6 separate regions of the Homo sapiens genome follow, and all the other regions are linked to region 1. The links are contacts of gene promoters, found by promoter capture Hi-C in blood cells and fetal thymus (Javierre and others, 2016). All regions are on one chromosome and are shown on one strand. Each heading gives the region's core, a stretch centred on a gene start or on the middle of the fragment in contact. The rest is flanking DNA. Distances are from core to core; before and after follow the strand shown. Region 1 holds the start of NKX6-1 (NK6 homeobox 1). Region 2 has its middle 130 kb from the start of GPAT3. Region 3 has its middle 160 kb from the start of GPAT3. Region 4 has its middle 190 kb from the start of GPAT3. Region 5 has its middle 220 kb from the start of GPAT3. Region 6 has its middle 140 kb from the start of GPAT3.

The links. Contacts are between HindIII fragments. The CHiCAGO score rates a contact against its expected background, and 5 or more counts as called.
Region 2: a fragment that was not itself captured here is called in contact with the fragment with the promoter of NKX6-1 in region 1 in 10 of 17 cell types (megakaryocytes, M0 macrophages, M1 macrophages and 7 more); the score reaches 11.1 in megakaryocytes.
Region 3: a contact is called between a fragment that was not itself captured here and the fragment with the promoter of NKX6-1 in region 1, in 1 of 17 cell types (M1 macrophages). The highest score is 5.2, in M1 macrophages.
Region 4: a fragment that was not itself captured here is called in contact with the fragment with the promoter of NKX6-1 in region 1 in 3 of 17 cell types (M1 macrophages, M0 macrophages and monocytes); the score reaches 9.2 in M1 macrophages.
Region 5: a contact is called between a fragment that was not itself captured here and the fragment with the promoter of NKX6-1 in region 1, in 2 of 17 cell types (M1 macrophages and M2 macrophages). The highest score is 5.7, in M1 macrophages.
Region 6: a contact is called between a fragment that was not itself captured here and the fragment with the promoter of NKX6-1 in region 1, in 7 of 17 cell types (megakaryocytes, M0 macrophages, M2 macrophages and 4 more). The highest score is 9.6, in megakaryocytes.

The regions. Positions count from the first base shown.
Region 1 is chr4:84,497,865-84,501,016 of GRCh38, forward strand. It overlaps NKX6-1 (NK6 homeobox 1), which reads right to left and starts at 1,428. Exons shown (of 3, transcript NM_006168.3): 1 at 1-1,428. The coding sequence starts at 364. The HindIII fragment of the contact is 5,978 bases long and covers 1-2,505 here.
Region 2 is chr4:83,661,189-83,664,207 of GRCh38, forward strand. No RefSeq gene overlaps it. Among named protein-coding and RNA genes, the nearest start is that of GPAT3, 130 kb to the left of the region's middle. The HindIII fragment of the contact is 2,952 bases long and covers 1-2,910 here.
Region 3 is chr4:83,694,844-83,698,249 of GRCh38, forward strand. No RefSeq gene overlaps it. Among named protein-coding and RNA genes, the nearest start is that of GPAT3, 160 kb to the left of the region's middle. The HindIII fragment of the contact is 3,451 bases long and covers 1-3,347 here.
Region 4 is chr4:83,720,224-83,723,175 of GRCh38, forward strand. No RefSeq gene overlaps it. Among named protein-coding and RNA genes, the nearest start is that of GPAT3, 190 kb to the left of the region's middle. The HindIII fragment of the contact is 1,765 bases long and covers 696-2,460 here.
Region 5 is chr4:83,756,527-83,759,710 of GRCh38, forward strand. No RefSeq gene overlaps it. Among named protein-coding and RNA genes, the nearest start is that of GPAT3, 220 kb to the left of the region's middle. The HindIII fragment of the contact is 2,530 bases long and covers 489-3,018 here.
Region 6 is chr4:83,676,801-83,680,225 of GRCh38, forward strand. No RefSeq gene overlaps it. Among named protein-coding and RNA genes, the nearest start is that of GPAT3, 140 kb to the left of the region's middle. The HindIII fragment of the contact is 1,635 bases long and covers 1,182-2,816 here.

The DNA.
Region 1 (3,152 bases), core at 178-2,677:
CGGAGGGCGAGGCGGAGGGCAGGGCGGCCCCCGAGGCCACGGGCATGGAGGGCCGGCTCAGGATATCGTTGATGCCGTGTGGGGTGGCGGCCGAGAGCTGCTGCGGGGGGCTGCCGAGGGATGAGAGCCCCCCCGTGGCCGGGGGCTTCAGGCCGCCTGGGTTGTGGGTGCCCAGAGGCGGGGAGGGCGACGAGGAGGACGACGACGAGGACGAGGAGGAGGGGGGGCCGGCAGGCAGCGGGGGATACGCGGCAGGGTACAGCGGGGTCTTCATCTCGGCCATGCTGTGCAGGGCGGCCAGGGGAGGGCTGCTGAGCAGGAATGCGCTCTGCCGGGTGCCCTCCATTGCCCCCACCGCTAACATCCCACGGCCACGCCGGAGACCGTAGCCTTGCAGCGAGGGCGCTGGCTGGTGCCCCCCGCGGGGCTCAGAGGAGCCGGAAGCGCCGAGGGCGCGAGCGGAGAGGCACTCGGCGCGCCCGGAGGCGAGCTGCCAACTGAACCAAAAATGCCGCTGCCGGGAGTTGCTCGCCTAGCTGCGCAGCAGAGATGTCCAAACCCTCCACGCGGGAGGCGGCAGCTCGCCGAGAAAAGCAGGCGTCCCGGCGGGCTAGGCAGTCCTTTCGTTCCGCGAGTCCTAGATTCGATCCCTGGCTATTCTCTCTTCCTCACTTTTCCTAGCTGTTCAAAGTGCGCTACTTCTCATCTTCTGCCCCCGGGAAATAAGCAAAACAAAACCCAGGCTGGCTCCGGAGAGTTTGTAGCAAAGTTAGTTGCCGAATCTCCACTTTGAAGTTGGAGGGTGGGGGTGGCTTGCTTTCTTTGGGGAGGTTCAAAGGACGCCTTGTGCAGCCCGTGGCGCTCCTCTGATCTTACTGGGATGCTCTGCTCTTTCGGTCGCGCGGCTGATTCGCATTCGACGCTCACTGTGCCCGGGGAGAAAGCGCATCCAGCCCGCGGGAGATCTAGCCTCTGTGCGGGCTTCCTCCGCCCACGCTGCCCCGGGCTGCTGCGCCAGAAAGGGCAGTGCCACGGATCCCCGCGGCTCCCAGGTCCTCACCTCCACCCGCCTTGCCCTCTGGCCCACGGGGCACTGGAGTTGCAATATTGAAAAGAAAAAGGGGGAGGAAAAACACAGAAAAACAAAAGACTAAGTGTGAAAAGTCTGACGGCTGGGTTTCGGCGCCGCTCGTCAGTCCACTTCTGCAAACGGGCCCGGCGACCCCCGCCCCACCCCCGCTCCCTCTCTCCCTCTCACTCTCAGCCTTTGACTCTCCTCTCTGGCATTTTCTTCGCGGCTTCCCAGGCTTCGGTCTTCTAAGTCCTGTCCTCTGGCCAAACTGACCCTCTCCGCGGCTCCTCCGCTCTTTCTCTCCTTTCCTCTCTCCCTCCGGGCCTGACAGTTCAGATGAAGCTCTCAAAGGTAATAAAACATTTGCATCACTCCCTACCCCTCTTTAGCTGGGGGACGAAAGGGAGGGGGAAGTGGGGGACCAAAATGAGAACTTTGAGGGACGTCACTCCGAGGCTGCGGGGGCCGGCGAGCCGGGCGCAGGCCGGGGGCGTAACCACCGTGTCCAATAGCTCGCCGCCTCGATCCTTGCGTCGCCCCTGGGGCTCGCCCACTCGGGGGCGCCGCACCCTCTGATTGGCTGAGGCGGGCCAGGCGTAGGGCCGCGCCCGCCTAGTCCCCTCCCGCTCCCTACTTCTTTCTCCTGTGGGCGGGGCCAGGAGGGGCGGGAGCTGGTGAGTGGTGCGGTTCCGCGCTGGGGCCAGTGGCCGCCTCAATTAATTGTGCTAAATAAAATGAGAAAGGGGAGGGGGAAGCAGAGACGAAGAGGGTATTACTTTTTAAAGAGAGGAATAATGAAAACTCAGCCCTTTTATGGAAAAGCAGTTCATATTCTTCCCTTGCTTCCCCACTAGCCCGCTCGCGTCATCCTATCCCCTTCCCCCACCAGCTCTGGAGGGCGCCTCACCTCGAACCAAGTCTGGTCCCTTGTAAAATGGAGCTAATGGAGCAGGCAGCCGGCGCAGCCCTGGCCTGGCTCCTTCTTTTGAAGGGATTAATTAAAGGCCATCTGGGCTCTCCCAGAATTGTGTAAATTAATTTGTTGCTCCTTAAGCCTTATAGATGTCCTTAATCCCCTTGTAGGCCAAAGGATCGTCCTCTTCCATCTTTCCACCTCCTGCTTTCCTTTTCTGTTCTTTCTCCTCCACTTTATTTTTTTTTTCATTCCCGAGTTCCCCCCCGCCCGTCGCTTCCCACCGCGTTCATTATCATTTATGGGTTACTCAATTCGCTGAAAACTGAATCCGTTTAATAGGAATATTTATCTGTCAGATGATGTTTATACCTGAGAACAGTGAGGGAGTTTTTTCCCTTAACTTTTCTCCCTTTGATTATTGTTGTTATTTCCTTTGGGTTTACATGGGGGTAGAATCATCAAAATTCAGGCGGAAACTTTAGATACAGAAGCATCTAGGTACACCCTGGGAACTGTAAGCTTTTGAAAACCCTCTCCAAAACTCTGGCGCCTACTCCCAATTCTAGAGTTGCTACGGGAGATGGAGATGTACCAGCTCCTGGACAGTGGTGGTGGGATGTCTATCTAGAGTTTAGGAGTTGAAGGGTGGCTTCCTTTACTCTCTAAATCTCTTCCATCTCTGGCTGATCTTTACGTTCCCGACAGGGTTGAACTGCGGGCTGGAGAAGGAAAACCCTTTGACAATTTTGAGAATTCAGCATGTTAAAGTAACACACCATTGGAAGGTGGTCGCTACAGCAAATTTGGATGAGATCATTAATTACAATTTTAATGAGCAGAAAACAGAAATAAACGCAATAAATGGCTCAAGAATAAAATTTGATCAGCACCACCGACGGATGGAGTTTAGCTATTGGTGTCAAAGCGCTCATTTGGGTCCAAGCACGAAAAGCCAGGAGGGCGTACTCCGCTTCGATAACCTTCGTTTACTAAGCACTAGTTTTTAAGGGTCAGCTTGAGTTTGAGTCTGAAACTGGGGGAAGGAAGGGTTATATTTGCCAGTTTTATTTCCTTCTAAGATAGAAGCAATGTTATTTGGTCCTCCTCTTCCTTTATCTTTCTTCATTAACTTCAAGACTGGTTTAAATCTATTATTTCATGGAC
Region 2 (3,019 bases), core at 185-2,684, 840 kb before region 1:
GGTCAGAATTACTAAAGCAGGAAATGAGATGCAACTTCCAAAGGTGAAATAGAGTATTTCTTTTTTTTCTACTCTATCAGGAGCAAGAAAAGACTAGAATGGAGTGTTGTCCTTTGATTAGATAGGAAAGAAAGAGACTCACTGATGACATCAAAAGGCCACAGGGCATTCAATGTCTTTTTTAAAAACCTTTCTGCATGATCAAGTGAATGGGCTCTGGAAATGGGTAATGCATACTTTAGGAAAATGAAAAGGGAAAACGAAGACTTGGAGGGAGATAATTTAAATAAGTGAGATCTGTAAATGTGCAGGCCCTGATGATTTGCATTCAAGGGTACGAAAAGAATTGGCTAAAGTATTGTGGACCATAAATTGAATATGAGTCAGCAGTTAGTAAGGCTGTTATTTAAAAAAGGGAACATTATTGAGAGATGGATTAACAGGAGTATGACATGAAAAGGGCAAGGATATGTTCTTGAATACTTGGCATTGCCAACCATTATTTAGAATATAATTACCAATTTTGGTCCCTGTATATTAAAGGAGAATCACAAAATGATGAATGAAACAAAAAGTAAGTGAGGAATTCCAATGGCTGTGATAAAAAGTTAAATTCTCCATTTTTATGTTATCTTAGTTAAGAGTACCAACTTCCTGCTCGTACTGACTCAGAACGCCTAGAATTTGCCTTTTAAGTGATCTCTGTCTAAGTAGCCATATCTTTAGGTTAAAGGAAGTGGGCTTGCTCCTTTTTGGAAAAGAGGCAGCTAGTGTATAAGAAAGATTATTGTGAAAACCATTCTGGCTAATTGTTCTTCATATAGGAGGGAGTTGGTATATATTGGAACTAAGAGAATTAGACCAAAAACAACAACAAAAAATATCCCCAAACCCTAAACTAATAGTGATTAAATACCAGAACTGAGTGCTAGTTTTCTCTCAAATCCTTAGCATAATAACTCAGGATCCCTATGTATACACTATTTGCCTGTGTTGTCATAGAACCCTCTGTATCTTAACTCGGTGGAAGGGCAATGTTAAGAGTTGTGATAAACAGGTGCCCATTTCAATGGGAATTCTGGTGTGATGTCAGAATTGCTCAGTTGGCAAGATTTGTTTTCTATTCTCCCTAATTAGCCTTCAATTGTCTCCTTTTCCTGCAGACCCACCCCAGGACATCTCCTTCCCGGATGCACAGGTCACTTAGGTGGCCTCTTCCTGGCAGTTCAGGGCCCTCCTGCTGGCTCTCTTTGGTGTTTTCCCCCAGGCTGCTTTCTCTGTGATGTCCCTCTATGCTTGGGCTCCCCTTCCTCACAGACCTCTCAGAACTTACCTTTCCTCTCACCCATTGCCTAGGGTCCTTTACTTGGCACTCCAAAATGACAGTTTATGAATTCTGTAAACTTATTTGAAACGGGTTAATGGTGGTTTTCCAGTGTCTCTTAGGTACTGAGTGGCACTGTGGGACTAGTGGTATGGGGGAGAACATTTTAGGTGGTGGCATATGGACGTGACATTACATAACATTGAATCACGTAGAGTGAAAATTATTTCGTTTTCAATTTCTTCTCAAGTCTTTCTGATTCAGTCAAGGATAAAGTTTCATTTTGGTGCTAGTGTGTTTTTAACCCTTGAAAATTGCTCATCTCCCTTTTAAATAAAGCAAGTGTAGCCTTCAGGCTCAAAGCCTTGGGGGCTAGAATAATTTCTTAGACTGCTTTTTGTATTTAGGTATAATATACACACTAGAAGAGGCATAAATAAAAATGTACACTTTGATTAATTATATTAGCTAGAATTTAAATTTATTTCTTTGTTCTCATTGCATTTATTTACACAGTTTCCTTTTATTTATGCTAGTGATACTGGTTTCTAGGACGGTGATTTAAAAAAAGTTTTATAAAGAAATTTATTAAGGAAAAAAAGAGTTGATTTAAGGAGAAAATATTGCTGAATTTCACTGTTTTTAAAGGTTCACATTGTGCTCCACTATTATTTTAACCTTTCTGAAATCATGACACAGCATGCAACTTACAATGTCCATGAACTAGGTCAGGCAAAGTGCTTAGAGTGGTGTAGAATCTTTAGTTGATACTTGTGGTTAAATCAAGAAAGGTCAACATCAGAGCGTTTTGGATTCAATGAAATATGATAAAAATACTACAGGTAGTGTTGCAGAACTTTGCTCCTTAGTTCAGCTGAAACTGGGTTCCTGTCACAGGACCACGAAGGATTAGGAACACAGACTCATTGAAGGGTGAGGGGAACAGAATTTATTGGGCAAAAAAAGGAAAAGAAGAAGAAGAAAAGACTCCCAGCAAAGTGAGAGGGAGTCCTGCTAACAGGCCCCCAACGTCACAGATTGATTCCAGGTCACACACATGAGCTGAAGAGGCCAGGCTCCTCCCCGACCACACGGTAAGAACTTCCTGTGGCACCACCCTGTTCTCCCAGTGCGCAGGCGGTGGGAGATTCTCTGGGGACCCTCCCCCTTATCTGCTCCTGCACCTATCAGCAGTACTCCCATATAGAGAAAAATGGGGCTGCGGTGTGCAAATACCTGAAGTTTGGGAAATAGTAGCTTAGTGACCTACCCTTCCCATCTGATGCCTTTGCATTTTAATAGGGGTTCTCTAGAGTTGGAATGATGTGGCCCCAAAGAACCCTGTGGCAAGGTTGTGGTGGGTATTGGGAAATCCTGGGGGCGTGTGTGCAAGTGAGCTTTATTTTGGATCCCCTCAATGTTCCTTGTGATATAGGAGTTAAAAAGAAATTATTTAGGCAGATAGTGAGGGTAAGGAAGTCCTCAGTAACGTTTCCCTTTTAATGAAAAGCAGCCCCCAAATAATTTCTTTTCTAACAAAAAGCAACTTGTAAAATTGGGTTGCAAACGTAGATAAGCAAGCTGGAAGCTTGCACGGGTGAATGCCAGCAGCTGTGCTAATAGGAAAAGGCTACCTGGGGACCAGGCATGTTCAATATGGAGGCTCCATCTTCCCTTTTATCAATCCCATATACC
Region 3 (3,406 bases), core at 372-2,871, 800 kb before region 1:
TTACATTTGTTACGTTCAGTGAGAAGAAGGTATATTCTCTACCATTTCTGGAATTCTTTTTTATGCACATATGAAAGTATTCGAAAGCATTCAAACTCTGCTTTAGTGAGTACCTTTATTCAGATAAAATATCAGATCTTTTTTTCAACCTTCCAGTGATAATTCTCTAAGAAATATTATTCCAGGATAAGTAATTTCTAAAATGGTATTTTTATGCTCTAACAAGTTTGAAAGTCCTTATATGTGTCCACTTGCATGAATACCAGCGGTCTAATGGAAACTCTAATGTAGCAATATTCCGTATTAAGGAAAAGACCTTAATAAAACCAAGTCCTTTGTCCATAGATTTAGTTTAACAATAGTTTCTTGGGCTCCTACTAAGTGCCCAACATAGCATTAGGAATTGAAGTCAAAGCGGAATCAAGGAGGTAATGTTGGGACCTGGAAGATGTTTATTATCTTTTCTGGATTTTGATTTGCTTAATGAAAATACTCTATCTTGATAATTTCTAGCAGTAGGATGCCATTGTCATCTTCAATTAAGCCTGTGTTTCTCAAGTATTCTTTCCAGTGCTTTTGGTGGTAGGAATAATGTAAATTTTTAAATAGTAAAAAAAGACATGATCCAGATATCAACTGAAGTCACCTTGTATATGAGATTTTTAAGGAAAGGCTTCCTAGTATTCTTTGAGAATCTCAGCAGTTGGTCAAAATTTCGCAAATTCTTGTAAATCTACATTTTAACACTCACTTTTAACTCTAAGTTCCTGTTTTCCCTGAACTTTCAATTTAATGAACATTTTATCTTGTATTTTTTTTTTATATTTAACAAATTACAGATACAGAACTTGGCCCCCTTTCCTAGCTTTCTTCCCAAAAAACTCACAGGAAACTTTTGTTTATAGCAGAATTTAGTAGACGCTTTACAATAGTGGAGGGGTTTCCTAACTCAGAGGCATAAACAGCATACCATTAAGTATTAAATATCCTGTTCTTTAAAATCCTTCAGCTATCTTGGTTAATTGGCTTCTTATGTAGGCTCCAGCCACCTGCCAGTTTACCCAGCCTTCCTTGTTTCCCTTTCTCCTTCCCTCTTCTCTCTCTTTTCTAGAGCCCTCCCATTCACCTATATTTGCCTACAGAGGTGCTTGTCTCATTTCCCTAGCCAATCCTTAATCTCAAGGTCTTATCTTTATATGTAATAGGTTTTAAAAATATTTCTTACTTAAAGACAAATTTTCTTCCTAAGAAGCACTTTAGTGACAAATGTTAAAGTAACAGTCGTTTTTCCTTGTTTTACGTAAATCTTGATAAATTAAAATATCTGGCCAGGAGCGGTGGCTTACACCTGTAATCCCAACACTTTGGGAGTTTGAGGCAGGTGGATTACAAGGTCCAGAGATCGAGACTATCCTGGCCAACATGGTGAAATCCTGTCTCTACTAAAAATACAAAAATTAGCTGGTCATGGTGACGCACACCTGTAGTCCCAGCTACTCGGGAGGCTGAGGCAGGAGAATCACTTGAACCTGGGAGAGGGAGGCTGCAGTGAGCTGAGATCACACCACTGCACTCTGGCCTGGCTACAGAGTGAGAATTCATCTCAAAAAAAAAAAAAAAAGAAAAAAACCAACTCTGTCATCTTTTCCTTCTTGTACCCACATTTTGTTTTTTGGCATTTCTAAAGTTGAAACCTCTGTCACACAAAATGCCAGGTGTAAGCCAATAGAGCATGGTGGAAACCGTGAAAAGGAACAAGTGGAACATATAAATATTTTTATACTTAAATTGGGAAAACATAACAATATCCTATATGATTTTTGGTTTAGGCTACTATGTAGGTCATTGGCAAGTAAAATGATAATTCTAGCCCCAAAAGTTAGTGTAAGAATGCAATTATTAGGATGTATGTATTTTTTGTATCTTCGAACAGAAGGTCCCAGGATTGTGAATCAATATATAGCAACATAAACTACCTAACCTTACCTTTTCCCTTTCCAAAACAGACCAACTGAGCCACCCTAAATGAAACCTTAGTTCCTTACTTTTAGGAACAAGAACATGATGAGATGAATAGATTTTTACTAAAGTAGGTATTATTCTGCATTATGTAAGCAGTAATTGTAAGAATATAAAATAATTGTGCTATTCTATAATCATCAAAAAGTTGATCTGTAGGAGCCCGAAGTTTTAACACATGCAAGAAATGTTTATGCAGTTATTAGTTTGCTAAAAGAGTGATACCGACATACACTCAACTGATCAGATTTTAATTTAGCAAGCATCATTTCTCTTCAATAAATTTACATAAAATTATGAAAAAAAATGTAGTGACAAACCTTTACAATTCCACTTAGAGTGGGTCTGCTGGTGACAAATTCAGTTCTGTTTGTCTGAAAATGTCTTTATTTTACTCTCACTTTTGAAAGACATTTTTGCAGTGTGTAGAATTCTAGACTGTAAGTTACTTCCTTTTGCAAGTTTAAAAATACCATTCTAATATTTCTGGCCCTCATTGTTTCTATTGAGAAGTCATCCTTCAGTAATATTATGGCTCTGTAATTTTCTTTTTATCCTTGGCTTTTATAGGCCTTCTTGAATCCATAGCTTTATGTTTTCCATCAGTTTTAAATAGTTCTATCATATTTTCTTCAGCTATTGCTTTTTTACATTATCTTTCTCCTTTCTGTGACTCCATGCATATTCAAACTTTTCAGTGTTCTCTGTATGTCTTATTCTCTCTATCACATTTAAAAATCTTTTCATATCTTCATACTTTAGTTCTTATTTTCTTCTGATTTTTTCCTGTTCATTCTTTTTTTAATGTAATGTACTCTGCTTTTAAATCCATTTGTTAAGATCTTATTTTTGGTTATTATAATTTGTCTTAGTTTTAGAATTTCCATGTAGTTATTTTTTATAGTTCCCAGTTCTTTACCTACAGTCTATATAGTTTCTTTTATCTTCTTGAATATAGTTTTCATAATTATATTACAGTTGCTGTGTAGTGACTACTCTTTCTCGAGCCACTGTAGGTTTTGTTCTACTGTCTATTGTTTCTGCTGTTTCTGTTTATGTTGTCTTATCTCATAATTTGCCTGGTTATTTTTGACTGCATGCAGAAAATTGTATTTGCAAAATTGTTGGGGAAAATAATTTTGAGGTTTAGAATGATAAGGTCTTTTTACATAGAGGCTCTACATTTGCTTCTACCAGGCAACAGGAATTATCTCAATAATTGAAATTTAGATTACAATCTTTTTAAAGATCATTCTTCTTCTGGATTATCCCTTCTGCAAAGGGGTAGTTATTCAGGGTACTAATCCAAAGAAAGGTGGCTTTACCAAAGCTTTTCTATCCCTTGGCACATCTTGGACTCTGTCAGTCCCTCAATCCCGAAAGATTG
Region 4 (2,952 bases), core at 328-2,827, 780 kb before region 1:
ATATTTTATATAGATCCTGCCATTTATTTTCAGTTATTTCTAGATATTTTATTTTTTATTTATTTTCACAATTCTACATGAGATTTTAAAACATTTTTGAAATGGCTTTTCTAGAAATATAGAAAAGCATTCAATTTTTGTAACTTCATCTTGGATTACTACTTTTAGTAGCTTTTTTTTTTCTGAGACGGAGTCTTATTTTGTCACCCAGGCTGGAGTACAGTGGCGCAATCTCAGCTCACTGCAACCTCCGCCTCCCAGGTTCAAGAGATTCTCCTGCCTCAGCCTCCGGAGGAGCTGGGATTACAGGTGCATGCCACCACGCCCGGCTAATTTTTGTATTTTTTGTGGAGACAGGGTGTCACCATGTTGGCCAGGCTGGTCTTGAACTCTAACCTCAAGTGGTCCACCTGCTTCCGCCTCCCAAAGTGTTGGGATTATAGGCATGTGCCACTACTTCTGGCCTTATTTGCTTTCAAAGATAGTTTTCTAATTGTTTGATTCTCTTGTACTTTCTGAGTATCTAGTCATATTGCCTGGATATCAATCTTTTATCTTTACTGGTTGTTTTTATTTATTTTATTTGTTTTTTTTAAATTGGCTAGGACTAAGTGTAGAATCTTATTTGTTGAACTTTAAATGATGCTTGTGCTGCTCCTGCATTTAATGGGACTTCTTTTTCTAGGTCACAGTTAAGCTTGAGGTTGGTTTGTGAGCTCCAATTTATTGAATGAGGATGTTGGGCTTTACATTTATTTTTATTACACTTTATCTTATTATTTCTGGCTCATCAGCCAGCTCCCAACTTATTTAAAAATTGTAAGGCTGGCAGCCTTTGGCAATGTTAGCTTCTCCTCTCACCCTGGGCCAACTACAGTATGAGAGATGTCTTCTTTCAAGAAAGTAAAATTGAACACACAGATTCTTGGACCTGCACTCCAGCATACCAACTTCCCCTGGGTTCCCTCTGTTACTTAATTAACACTGTTCAACCAGCTATAAATTCTGCACATTCTCACTCCCTCAGCCCCATTTCTCCATCTTGAATACAAAGATCCCAGCCATTTTATTAAATGCTCTGATGAAATCAAGATGGAGTAAATCTCTGGCCCTCCTGTTTGTTAGTCTGGGTTATCCAAGTGAACCCCACTTTTATTTTCCAGTGCTCACAAGACATCTAGAATTATCCTGGGATTCAACATAAAATGTTCCTTGGGTCCGCTTTATTTCTTTTGGAAATATAGATGTTTGCTCTCATCTAGTTTTGGGGAACCTTTCCCTTTCCCTTAATTTCTTGGGATTTTGACAGTAATTGTGGGATGATAATTGTGGTCTTTTTAATACTCTGGAAAGTTATTATTTTGGGTCCCGAAACTTGAATTTATTTCAAACTGCTTGCTGGGTCCTGACTATCTTCCACCTTCCCGGGGCTCTACTTCCTCTTCAACCACATCAGCGCTCTCCTCTCAGGAGTGAAAGTCATGCTGTGGATAGAGAAGGCTGAAACAAAACAGGCATTGACTAGTTCTGACTCCTCATATCTGTCACAATGAGTTGGCCTTGATATTTTGTTTTTGTGACAATAAATACAGCTTAAAAAAAGAGGCATATTTTCTCTATAGAATTTTTCTCAATCTTCAATCCATTCCAGATTTTATCTTTCAAAACAATATTCCTACAGCTTTATGCACTGAGAAAAATTTCTTCCAGATTATATCCTCTTTTCATTTATTGTACGTAAAGTTTTAAATCTGTTTATTAGTGTACACCCTTATACAGCTAACTTTTCTTTTTCACTGAAATAATTTTTTATTGTATTGTCACCTTTTGGTTGAGAATCTGGTATTCCTCCAGAGCCATTTCCCTTCATAGAATTTCTATTGACATACATACAGCAAGGGCTGGAGAGACACACATCATTGAAAGCTCATGTGATGAGAATTCAACATAGTTATTCAGAGATCTATAGGATTGTTTATTTATTTATGTTTTTGAGACAGGGTCTTACTCTGTCATCCAGGCTGGAGTGCAGTGGTGCAATCTCAGCTCACTGCAACCTCAACCTCCCAGGCTCAAGCGATTTTCCTGTTTCAGTCTCCCAAGTAGCTGAGGCAACAGGTGTGAGCCACCACACCTGGGTATTTTGCTAGTTTTTTTTTAGAGACAAAGTCTCACTATGTTGCCTAGGCTAGTCTCGAACTCCTAGGCTCAAGCAATCCTGGGCTGTGCTTCCCAAAGTATTGGGATTACAGGCATGAGCTACTGCGTCTGGCCTAGAATTGTATATATATAGTTGTATATAATATATACAGCTATTTAACATAATTTTAAAGTTATATATATAAATCGACATATTTATATGTTATATTAAAAATATATAAATTTATTTATATATACAACTTTAAAAATATATTGAACGACTCTTTTTCTCTCTTTCAACCTTAAACTTGACTAAGTATAAGCTTATTGAAGGTATTTAAAAGTGTTTGTTCACTAAATTCACACAACCTCTAAGCAATTTCGAAAGACATTAGTATTTTTAAATTGGAAAAAAAAAAGAAAGATCAATTTTAACCGACTGGAGGACCTTGCTGCAATGTGGACCTGCCTCTTTGTGGACCTGTCCTGAGGATCTGTGTTCCCCCAATGCTCCCTGTCAGGCAAGGAGTCAGTCCCGTGTTGAGGTTATTCTGCTGTGACAGATCAGCACATCTCAGCCTGTGGTTTGAGACTCACTGACACAGCAACTTGAATTTTCCCTTTGACCTTTGCAAAATTCAACTTTTGGCTTGCAGTGAAATCTGTGTTTCATTGACTGTGAAATTAAGAGAATCTCCAATGAGTAAAAAATGATTAGCTTTCACTTTTGGATGAAAACACGCCAAGGACAAACATCGATTTTGAGAGATCCTTTATAGAGCATTGCACCTTATAAAGCCTCTGTAGGAGGCA
Region 5 (3,184 bases), core at 504-3,003, 740 kb before region 1:
TGTACTTCATTTGTTTTTTTCTCATAATATCTCATTGATGACTTGGTAGAATTCAAGTTTAGTCTTGAGATATGAATCTGATAAAAGTATAGTAAATCCTGGAACTACTGGCATTTTAAGAAAATGGGAAAACAGTGCATATGAATGAATATTCAACCAAGTGCTGTTGTGAAACCTGGCCCTAAAGATTTTCAGAGAAATATTAAACTGTCAAGGACCTGCTTAGATTTGTAAACTAATCACCTGGACACAGAACATGTTGCTATTGACTGCTGGGTTCTTTGAAACTTTAAAATAACTTTATCCTCTCGTTGCACTAATTAGTTGTAGCTGTCAGCTTCATGCAGAAATCCCTTTGAGAGTTCGCTTGGGGAGTTATATCATATATATATGTGGAACATGTATGTATGTGTGTGTGTGTGTATATATATAGATTATACATATGTATATTTATATACTTTGTTGTGTTGTGTTATAAATCAATCCAAAGCTTAATAGCTTAAAACCAAAGCCATTTCTTTAACTCAGGAGTCTATTGTTCAGCAATTTGGGTAGGGCTCAGATGGTTCTTCTGCTGATCCTAACTGGACACACTCATGCATCTGTAGTCAACTGCTGGTCGCTATGCTGCTCTGCTTCTGGGGTTGACTGGTGGTGGGTGGGGTGCCAGGGATGACTGGGTCACATGTCCCTCATTATCTTGCAGGCTAGTCTGGGCTCATTCACATGGTGACTCAGAGTTCTAAGGACAGCCAGAAAGAGGACAGGCCCTACCACACAAGTGCTTATCAAGTTTCTGCTTGGATCACATTTGCTAATGTCCCATTGCCCAAGGGGAGTCTGTTGGCTGAGCCCAGAGTCAGAATGGGAGGCACTCGTGGTTGTATGGCAGGGGTCCTAGATACAGGAAAGAGATGAACTTGTGACAGTTTTACAATCTATCACAGTAATACAGATGGCTTTGGGCAGCCAGAAGTAGCTGTGGATGATGTTTGTTAATAGCTGTAAGAGTCTTTGAGAAATCATGCCATCTTGTGTAGAAAGGCAGCATGGTGTTTGGAAATACTCTTGACCTTGGATTCCAAAGAACTGGCTTCTTGTTCTGGCACTGCTACTCTTTCATTGCGTGACAATGGAAAACTTTCTGAATTTCTCTGGGTCCCTAATTATTCAACTGTTAAATTGAGGTATCATTTCTAGGATTTTAAAATTTCAAATAAATGCCTTTGTTTGTGAGATACTGAAAGATTTAGAGAAGAATTAAAAAAAATCGTAAAACCATAGAGCTCATTGAGTCCAACATCTTGCTCTTAATGATGGGGAAAATGAGGCCCAGAGAGACTTACTCAAGGCCCTAGAAAAAGTTAGTTGTGGAGCTGGCCCTAGAAGTTAGGTCTCTCTGATTTCTAGCTCACCAACATTTTCTCTATCCCTGGGTGTTTTGTCAACAAGGTATCAGGAACATATTTATTTTCAAGTACAGTTAGCATTCCACACATAAAATTCATTTAACTTACTTGAAGTTTTATTCAAAGTTTTAGGTATCATTATAGGTAAACAACTTTGAGGTATATTTGTACGTGCATGGTAGTTAGCAATGAGATATAGCATTTGAGGCTGATCTTGATGGGGTTACTCATGCATCTGTGCTCAGCTTGATAAAGACCACCTTAAAACAAAACATTTTGTGATAAGTCCAAAAAGTGCTCACTGCATTTTCTGAAATTCACTCCTCCCCCATTCTGCCAGTTGCTGCTTCTGATCCCTGATGGGTCAGGCTCAGGAGGGGAGGGTGTGGGAAGTACATGGACAAGGGATAAAGAGCACATAGAGTGGTTACTCTAGAATCTGACACCAGTGAGCTCTTTATGCAGCAGATAGACAGTAACTGGCACTTGTTCTCATGGGACCCTTTGGTGAGTTCATTAGAGGTCCTGCACTGGGGACCTCTGACTGCAGCCTCTTGAACTTCTGTTGAGGTCAATTTACTCTGTGGGGTGGTTGTCTTTGATATAAAGCTCAGCCATCTCCCCGTAGAGTCCTTTCTCCTTACTCTGTTGCAATCTAATCTAGCCATAATCTTTCAGTTTTAGACTTACACTCTTGAGAGTCAGGCACCAGTGTCTCTGTCTGTCAAATTCCTGGGGTCACTTGCCAAGTTTTTGTTGCATCTCATTGGAGAGAAAGTGCCCATTATTCTCCCCCTTTGAAGTGGGAGAGAGACACCATGCTGCTCAGGAACAATATTTTCTCTTCAATATCCTCTCTCCCCAACATCTGCATTAAAATCCCCTCTCTCCAACATCCTTAACACCTATGTGAATTCTTTGTCTCCTCTTGTGTAGCTTGAAAGTGGTAACCATATGATGTTAGCATGGTTTCCAGTCTCTCAGCACATCCAACTTACGTAGTTTAGCCCCTTATTTTAGAATGTGGGCACCTAGCACCTGTTGAATTATTTTAGCCCTTAATTCTTGCTGAAAAAGAGTATATAAGAAGAGTGACTTTAGTTTCTTCATCTGAAAGACAAAGAGGTTAGACTTCTTGCTCTTTGGACATTGCTATGGACTAATTTGTGTCCCATGCCCCCCTCCAACTTAGATGTTTAAGTCCTAACCCTCAATGTCACTGTATTTGAATATAGTGCTTTTAGGAGGTAATTAACATTAAGTAAGATCAAAAGCACGGGGCCCTAATCTGATAGAGCTGGTATCCTTATGAGAAGAAGAAAACAGAGAGAGGATGTATGTGAGGACATAGTAAGAAGGTGGTCATTTGCAAGCCAGGGATAGAGCACTCACAAGAAACTGAACCCTACTGGACATTGATCTTGGACTTTCCAGCCTTCAGAACTATGAGAAAACGCATTTCTGTTGTTCAAGCCACGCAGTCTGGTGTTTTATTATGGCAGCCTGAGCAGACTGATACGGATGTCTTTACTTCTAAAACTCTTAAACCCCACCCCCCAAATTCTAAAACTGCTCATGTCCCGTGAGAGCTCACATATGTCCAAGAAAAAGCTTGCCTCACTCCACCAGTGACATCTAGACTTAAGGAAGCTTCTTCTTGCCCTTTGAGGCCATGGGTCTGCCTTTACCCATCCTCTCCAAGCTGAAATCTTAGCCACGGCACTCACACTGTTAATGTTATCTCAGCAACTGAACAAGCTCCATTCCCTCAACTT
Region 6 (3,425 bases), core at 749-3,248, 820 kb before region 1:
TAAAATTGCAACAAACTTTATAAAATCAGATGTATGGTTCATTAAGAGAACATTACCTTACAATCATGATTAATTAGATTAAACTTATGAAAGTGTGTTATTTGTTCAAATCAAAAGGGTGGGGGAAGATGATGGATGATGAAAGAGTGTGATAAATGAAGAAAGCAGCTGAACTAAATTGAATGTGTATTCATCCGTTTTCACTTCATAACTAATGATAAATTGAGCATGTCACACTTAACAATACATATCTGGGCTTAAGCACACAGTTTCAGCTCCTGTTCACTAATGCCTTTTGATAGGTAGTTGAGACCAAAGAATTGAAATTTTAGTTCCTGGACTTTTGTCTGCCTGGCTCTTACCTTGGAAAACACAAAGGATACTTATTGACTGAATAAAGGAATTTATGAAATTGTTAATACTTAAAAGTTGTACTTCCTCAGGTCATGCTTATGGTATTTAAAAGTAGGAGATTTATCTTACTATCCAAGAAAAAGGATTTTTTCCTCCTTTGCAGGACCAATCCAGTTGTAGAGGTAGAAAGTACTCAGAATTGTGGAAATATTTTTCCTCCTTTTCTTTCTCAAATGTACCCATGTTTACCTTGGCAATCGATTGGAAGAAACACCCCAAAAGGCTCATTAGAGAGTCTGGGAAATTTGAAAGTGAGGGGTAAACATCAAACAGTTTACATCAGTTTCCTGAAATCTCAAGTTTTCCAATATTTCAAATCACATTGTAGTCTCTCAAGGACCATCTGAGATTTATGAAGCTGATCTTAGGGTCAGGGAGAAAGTTTGTGGAAAATGTTTCCAATCACACTGAATTAGACACATTTGCCACATAGAGTCTGGAACGGTTTATGAAAAGAATCCATTTTTTTTGCTAGAAAAGTTCAAGAGAGTTACAATATAGGATCTGACACACAGGGAATATTTCTCTGCTCTTTAGTTCTCACTGAGTTTGAATTAAAACAATGTGAAGTGAGTGGGTGTTTCTGAAAAGATTACACAACTTTTTGTTTTTCTGTTTCTGAGTTTTCTAAAAGGATTTTAGTAAGATTCCTTTTGAGTTGTGGTGACTGTTTCTAATCAGTTTTGATTTTTATCTGAATCTCATCTACAAGCCCTACCTCAAAACTTATTTAAGCATTTCCAGCTTGCGATTTTCAGTAATGATGAAGCTTTTAAGAGACCGACTATCTTTCAGATACTTTTCAGACTCTCACACTAGGGCTATGCAGTAGAAGATATTTTTGGACAAGAATTACCCTACTCCTCAGAGCAAAGGAGGCATTCTGAAAGACGGAGGTGAGACAAACTGTGGCCATGTAGGAGTTCTGAAGGGATGGATGATGCTGTTGACAGGAGTAGTTATTCAATGTTAGTTATAATACACCACTAGAAACAAAGTCTGTGGAGGTGGTTCTTAACCGTACTGGGTGGGAGAGGGAGTGGAATTTTCTTCCCTGGGGACATTTGGCAATGTCTAAAGACATTTTTGGCTGGGTGCGGTGGCTCGTGCCTGTAATCCCAGCAGTTTGGGAGGCTGAGGCAGGTGGATCACTTGAGGTCAGGAGTTCGAGACCAGCCTGGTTAACGTGGGGAAACACGGTCTGTACTAAAAATACAAAAATTAGCCAGGCATGGTGGCACGCACCTATGATCCCAGCTACTCCAGGGGCTTAGGCAAGAGAATCACTTGAACCTGGGAGGCGAAGGTTGCAGTGAACCGAGATCATGCCACTGCACTCCAGCCTGGGTGACAAAGCAAGACTCTTTCTCAAAAAAAAAAAAAAAAAGACATTTTTGTTTATTATAACATTTGGAGAGGGGTGTAGTGAGCAGAGATGCTGCTAAACGTCCTGCAATGCACAAGACGGGCTCTCATAACAATAAATTACCTGAATCATCTAGTTCAAGATGTCACTAGAGATGAGGTTGGAAAACCTCATTTAGAATGAGGCATGAATTTAAAGAATGGCAAATTAGTCAACTTGGTGAGCAACTGAAGATGAAATTTAAGGTGAGTGACAAGGCTGACATATATAAATAAGCCTAATTACATTCTTATAGTAGTACAACAAACACATCAGTGAATACTATGCCAAATGAATCCTACACTCAACAACTTGACTATAACAGTAATAACTTTAATTTAATATAAATTGGGTTGGTCTTGGATCCCAACCAAAATGATTTAATTCCTTAAAGACCCAAATAATTTTGCTCTGCTTAAGTCTTTTTCATAATGTGTTTTCTTAGAAATTGGGTTATTAAATTATAGTGAGTTTTTTTTAGGAGGTGTTATAATCTCTCCTTTTACCTAGAGAAGAATTGGAAGGGTATGCTTTGATCTTATGATTAAACTGGGAACAGAACTGAAAGCAGAATTCAGCTTTCTTGAGTGTATTGCTTGATTCTCCAACTGAAACTGCCTCCCCTTTCTAGGCCAGGGCATTGCTCTCTCTCCTGGGAGGAGATGGTCTTTAGTAATGGCAAGTTGTGTTTGGAAAAGAATATCCTGAAGGTGAGGGAAGGTGGTAAAGCCTTCAGCCATGCTAAACTATTCAAAAGAGGAGCTTAGAGGAAGAAATTGTCACACTTGTCTGAGTTCTGACGTGAAAATACATTTCAGAGCCAAGACAATTCATCTGTTAGGCTTCCTGTTGGAAGAATATTTACTCAGCTGTGGGAAGAGAGTTTCAGTGAACATCCAAGATAATGAAAGTTTGATAATACTCAATATTGTGGAAATAACCATGAATCGAATACATTCTTAGTGTCAGAATGCGAGATGATAAAGAACCTTGAAGAAGCTTCCTGGGGAGCAGAAAGCAACAGGATCCATATCAGCAGAGTTTTTGTTTTTTGTTTTTTTTTTTTTTAAATTTTTATTTCACTGGGAGACAGGGTCCTGTTTGGCAGGAGGAAGAAAAAACATGCTCATTTCACTTATTTTTGTTTCAACTCATTTTTGAAAACATTGTGATAAAATATACATGACATAAAATTTATCATTTTAACCATTTTAAGTGTACAATTTAGTGGCCTTAAGTACGTATACAATGTTGTGTAACCATCACCACTATCTAGTTCCACAATTCTTTATCACCTGAAACAGAGCTTTGTAACCATTAAAGAACAACTCCCCATTTTCCCTCCCCTCAGTCCCTAGTAGCCTCTGTTCTACTTTGTCACTATGAATTTGCCTATTCTAGATACTTACTGTAAGTGGAATCATACATTATTTGCCATTTTATGTCTGGCTACAGCTCACTTTTGTATTCCTAGTGTCTGGTTAATGCCAGGCACAAGAAAGGTACTTGAAAAATACAGATGGAATAAATGAAAGTCACAGTGGGAGGACGGGAGTAGCATGCACCTTCAGGATTTAACACATCACATTTTTAAAATTTATTAATA